Linked DNA regions of Homo sapiens: region 1 is linked to region 2. Evidence: promoter capture Hi-C in human tissues and cell types (Jung and others, 2019). All regions are on one chromosome and are shown on one strand. The core of a region is centred on a gene start or on the middle of the fragment in contact, and the rest is flanking DNA. Distances in the headings are between cores, read along the strand shown. Region 1 overlaps SDK1 (sidekick cell adhesion molecule 1). Region 2 holds the start of GNA12 (G protein subunit alpha 12).

Region 1 (2,700 bases), core at 73-2,572, 640 kb after region 2:
CCTATTAAATGCTTAAATTGGCTATATTGAAGATGTAAGAAGGCTGTTGAGTTTTGTGTTCACCTTGTATGTTTTGCGCTTGCCAAAATCCCTTACTTTTTCTGATTGCCTCTGATTTTCTAGGTGAATAATCATATTGTTTGTAAATTGTGATAATCATTTCCTTGTGAATATTTCTGTCTCTAAATTTTTATCTTATTGCAATCCCTGCACCACTACAATGCGGGATTTTAACAAGTGGAACAGATATCCTTGTTTTCTTCTTCATTTTAATGGATGCTTCTAATATTTTACCATTAAATGTAATATTTTCTCTAAATTTTTGATATATACCTTTTATCAGAATTTGCTAAGCATTTTTGTTAGGAATGGGTGTTCAGTACTATTAGATGATATTTATTTCAGTCTCTGATAGTTACATGATGTTTCTCCTTTAATACATGACTATAGTAAATTCATTGGAACATTTCTTTTTTCTCCTCTTTATCATTAAAATGTTTATATATACGTTGGATAAGCTCTACATGGCCATAATACTTGTCTAACATTTTAAAATTTATTTTTAGTTTTTAACTAATACATAATAGTTGGACATATTTATGGGGTACATGTGATATTTTGATATACGCATATGATGTGTAATAAATCAGGGTAATTGGGATATCTGTCACCTCAAACATTTATCATTTCTGTGTGTTGGGGATACTCCAAATATTCTCTTGCAGCTATTTAAGAAATGCCTTACTTCAGTATATGTGAGGGGTTGATTCCAGGGTCCCCTGTATAACCAAAATCGAAGCATGCTCCAGTCCACAGGTGGCCCTGCCAAACCCACGGATACAAAATTTCACCTTCTGTATCCATGAATTCACATCCCTCCAATACTGTACAGTTTTGTAGGATTTGAACTGCATGGGTCCATGTATACACACATTTTTTTTCAACCAAACATAGATCGAAAATACATATTCACTGGATGCGAAACCTACATATATGGGGGCTGACTTGTTGAATATGAGGTTCCACAAGGCCGACTTCGGGACATGAGTGTGTGAGGATTTCGGTAAACATGAGGGTCCTGGAACTAGTTCCCCATGTAGACCGAGGAACGGCTATATTTTCAGTTTGGTTGGAAAAATATCCTTGTATAAGTGGATCCTGGCAGTTCAAACCAGAGTTGTTCAAGGATTAACTGTACAATAGTTAACTATGGTCTCCTGCCAGTGCTGTTGAACACTAGAACTTATTCCTTTCCTCTAACTGTGGTTTTGTATCCATAACCAACCTCGCCTCACACTTTCCTCTCCCCTGCCCTTCCTAGCCTCTGGGAAACACTGTTGCACTCACTACCTCCACAAGATCGGTTTTTTTTAGCTCCCACATAGGAGTGAGAACATGGGATATTTGTCTTTCTGGGCCTGACTTTCGCTTAATGTCCTCCAGTTATAAACGTGTTGCTGCAAATGACAGCATTTCATTTTTTCAGTGGCTGAATAGTATTCCTTTGTGGAAGCATAACATATTTTGTTTGTTCATTCATCTGTTGATGAGCATTTAGCTTGATTCCATATCTTGGCTATTGTGAATGGAGCTGTAGTAAACGTGGGACTGCAGGTCATCTGTTTGATAGACTAATTTCCTTTCTTTTGGGTATATACCCAGCAGCGGAATTGCTAGATCATATGGCAGTTCTATTTTCCATTTCTGGAGGACCCTCCATACTGTTTTCCATAATAGTTCTGCCAATTTACATTCTCACCAAGACCGTATGAACATTCTTTTTCTCTGCATCCTAGCCAGCATTTGTTATTTTCTGTCTTTTTGATAATAGCTATCATATCTGGGGTGAGATGAAATCTCACTGTGGTTTTGATTTGCGTTTCTTAATGACTAGTGATATTGAGCATTTTTTCCCTAGACGTGGTGGCCATTTGCAGGTCTTCTTTTGAGAAATGTCTCTTCAGATACTTTGCCCATTTAAAAATCAGATTATTTGCTTATTTGCGATTGAGTTGTTTGAGTTCAGTGCTGGGTTCCACCGTGGCAGGGCTAACACCTAGTTCCAATGCCAAGTCCCACACTCACTTTGCTTTCCCTACCCCAAGCATAGGTGTTTTCCCTCCAGGCTGTGCTGCCTGGGGATGAGGTACCAGGGTGTAGGTAATGTGAGACTGTCTTCCCTACCCCTTTAAATGCATCTTTTCTTGTTAAGCTAAAACCAGGTCCTGTCATCTCCCATCTGATTTTTAGCTGTTATGAAAATGCTTTCTTGTATGGATAGTTGTTCATTTTGATGTTTGTGCTGAGGGGATGATCTTTGGAGGGTTTTTTTTTTTTTTTTTTTTTTGAGCCATCTTGCTCCACCTTTCTCTCTGGTAATTTTTAAACTTTATTTAAAAATGTTCCATCTATATTCATAAGTGCTATTCCCACGTAAGTGTGTTTTCTTATTATATTTATGAATCCAACTATGGTGGCTTTCTAAAACATCTTAGGTTTTTAAAAAATCTTATTCTTTGTCCCGTTAGGACAGTTTATATAATATTGGTTTTATCTATTTTTTGAAGATTTGAAAAACTCTTCATTAAAACCATCTATGCCTAGTGCTTTTAGGACACTATTAGGACAGTTTATATAATATTGGACAGTTTATATAATATTGGTTTTATCTATTTTTTGAAGATCTGAAAAACTCTTCAT
Region 2 (2,700 bases), core at 119-2,618:
GGGCTGTAGGTACTTTACAGTCAATCTACTATTTTCTCTACTTTTGTATACATTTGAAGTTTTCGTATTAGAAAGTGTGGCTCACACCTGTAATCTCAGCACTTTGGGAGGCCCAGGTGGGAGGATGGCTTGAGACCAGCCTGGGCAAGAGAGTGAGAGCCTTTCTAAAAAAACAGAAAAGTAAAAAGAGACTCATGGCTGGTTCCCGTCCAGTCTCCACTGCTCTTCTTCTAAGCTCAGCCGGAGGGCACGGCCGGTTGGGCTCCTATCCCACAAATCTTCCAGTGGGAAATGGACAGATACCATTCTGCTAGGGCACATCCAGGAGGGGGCTAAGTGCCAAGCCCCCACTCCCCATCCCCAGAAGCTGGCCCGAGTTCCCACTCCCACGGTCCCCAGGCACCCTAGAGAGGGCAGAGGCAGACCGGGCGCCATGACTCATGCCTATAATCCCAGCACTTGAGGGAGACCAAGGCAGGAGGATCACTTGAGGCCAGGAGACTGAGACCAGCCTGGGCAACACAGCAAGACCCCATCTCTACAAAAAAAAACTTAAAAATTAGCTGGGCTGGTGGTGCGCGCCTGTAATCCCACTACTTCGGGAGGCTAAGGAGGGAGTAGGGCTTGAGCCTGGGAGGTCGAGGCTGCAGTGAGCTGTGAGGGCGCCACTGCACTCAAGCCTGGGAAACACAGCGAGACCCCATCTCAAAAAGGGCGAGACGGGGTGGGGCAGAGACGACGCCAGCAGGCCTCGGGGAATGGGTCGGGGGGGAGTGGGGTGCAGGCGGGGCTGGATCCAGCATCCTCGCCCCAGGGGTCCCCGCCCGCGGCGGCGGACCACGGAGGGGCCCGGGGCGGGGGTTAGCGCCCCGGCCCACCTGGGTGCAGGTGCTGGGCGGGGGGCGCGCGTCACCTTGAGGATGTTGTCGAAGATGGTGTCGCGGAACTCCAGCAGCGCCTTCTGGTCGAACTCGCGGCCGTGGATGATGCGCATCTGCTTGAGGAACGTGGACTTGCCGCTCTCGCCCGCGCCCAGCAGCAGGATCTTCACCAGGCGCCGGACCGCGCGCCGCTCGCGGGCCAGCAGCGCGTCGATGTCGCGGCTACGCCTCCGGGCCTCGCGCTCCGCGTCGCGCGCGCCGCTGCCCGCCCTGCGCTCGCGGGCCCCGCCGGCCTCGGCCGGCAGCAGGCAGCGGCTGAGGGTCCGCACCACCCCGGACATGGCCCCTCAGGCCGCGGCCGCGCCCCGCCGGCGCCCGGGGGCCATGGACGCTCCCGCCGGCGAGGGCGAGCCCGGGCCGAGGCACCGCCCCACGCCCCGCCGCTCGCCTCAGGCCGCGTCCGCCGCCGCCGCTGCAGTCGCTCCGAGGCCCGCACTCGTCGCCCGGCCGCCACTCGGGCCCGGCGGAGGGGCGGGCGGCGCCGCGTGAGGCCCGGCGGATTGGGCCGGCTGCCGTCCATCTGGCCGTGAGAGCCCTTCGATTGGCTCATCTCGCCAAGGGAGGCGGGCATCCCTTCCGGCCTCGGGGCGGGGTCGACGCCGAAAGAGGCGGGATCTTTGAGGTGAAGGCGCTTCTCATTGGACGCCCAGGCTGAGGTTCTTTCTTTCAGAATGAAAGGGAGGCGGGGTCGCCCGGGAGGCGGAGCGATCGTCCGCCATGGCCAATTATAATTGCTCTGAGTGGACATCAGACGTGCCCAACGGGCTTTGGATTGGGTGTTCGGGGGACGGGGCGTGACGAGAAGTGCCAGGTGTACAGAAAGATTCTCCCTTGGTTCCCAGATTGGGTCCGCCTGTGAGACCAGGACCTCGCGGAGTAGCCCAAAGGCTGGGAAATGCTGATAAGAGGTTCAGCTGCTCGTCGTATTCCCTCCGATGATCTTGTTTCTACACTATTTTCCTTCCAGAAACACTGGAGGGGGATGGGCCATAAATTTCAAACACATGCACCCTTTGAGAGTGGCATGGGCTTCTAGGAGGCTTTGCGAAAAGCTGACTAATCACTAAAATCACCAGAAGCTCCCCCAAAAGTCTTATGTCTCACAGTGATTGAGAGAGTGGGGTCTGGAGTTGCTGGGCCTGAGTTGGAATCTCCAGTCGACCAGTTACTAGGTGTACTAGTTGCATAACTTTTTTTAGCAGCTTTCCCCACCCCCCCCAACAAACCCTTTTGGATGTTCTTAGCTTCCGTTTCCTCATCTGTAAAACGGGGGTGTCATTGACGACATTGGTTATGGCTTGACATTGCTCAAATCGTCATGAAGATATAAACTGAGAACATGAACTTACCAAACACTTAGCACGTGAGCTAGCCCAAAATCAGCTCTTGATAGAGATCAGCTGATTACAGATTCTTGACTCTCCCAGATCTACTGAATCAGAACCTCCTAGAAGGAGCTCAGGTATCCCTTAAGATTAAAGGCGTGAGCCGCCGCGCCTGGCCCAGTGTGTAGTCTTTTATCTCTCGCCACCCCCCACCTTTTACCCTGAGTCCCCAAAGTCCAATCTCTGTGCGGTGTCTGTTAACTCTGCTGATTATTTCTTTTGCAGTGCCGAAGCTTTTTAGTTTAATTAAGTCCCATCTATTTATCTTTGTTTTTGTTGCATTTGCTTTTGGGTTCTTGGTCACAAAGTCTTTGCCTAAGCCAACGTCTAGAAGGATGTTTCCGATGTTATCTTCTAGAATGTTTATGGTTTCA

Evidence for each region. Contacts are between HindIII fragments. The study calls those that stand out against the background at their distance.
Region 1: a contact is called between a fragment that was not itself captured here and the fragment with the promoter of GNA12 in region 2, in 2 of the 25 tissues and cell types used here (dorsolateral prefrontal cortex and mesenchymal stem cells).

Annotation. Positions count from the first base shown.
Region 1 is chr7:3,483,359-3,486,058 of GRCh38, forward strand. All of the region lies in intron 1 of SDK1 (sidekick cell adhesion molecule 1), which reads left to right. Among named protein-coding and RNA genes, the nearest start is that of SDK1-AS1, 130 kb to the left of the region's middle. The HindIII fragment of the contact is 8,636 bases long and covers 1-2,700 here.
Region 2 is chr7:2,842,940-2,845,639 of GRCh38, forward strand. GNA12 (G protein subunit alpha 12) reads right to left here and starts at 1,369. Exons shown (of 4, transcript NM_007353.3): 1 at 914-1,369. The coding sequence starts at 1,222. RefSeq lists enhancers at 676-1,493, 1,456-1,750, 1,733-1,862 and silencers at 843-892, 1,233-1,562. The HindIII fragment of the contact is 31,365 bases long and covers 1-2,700 here.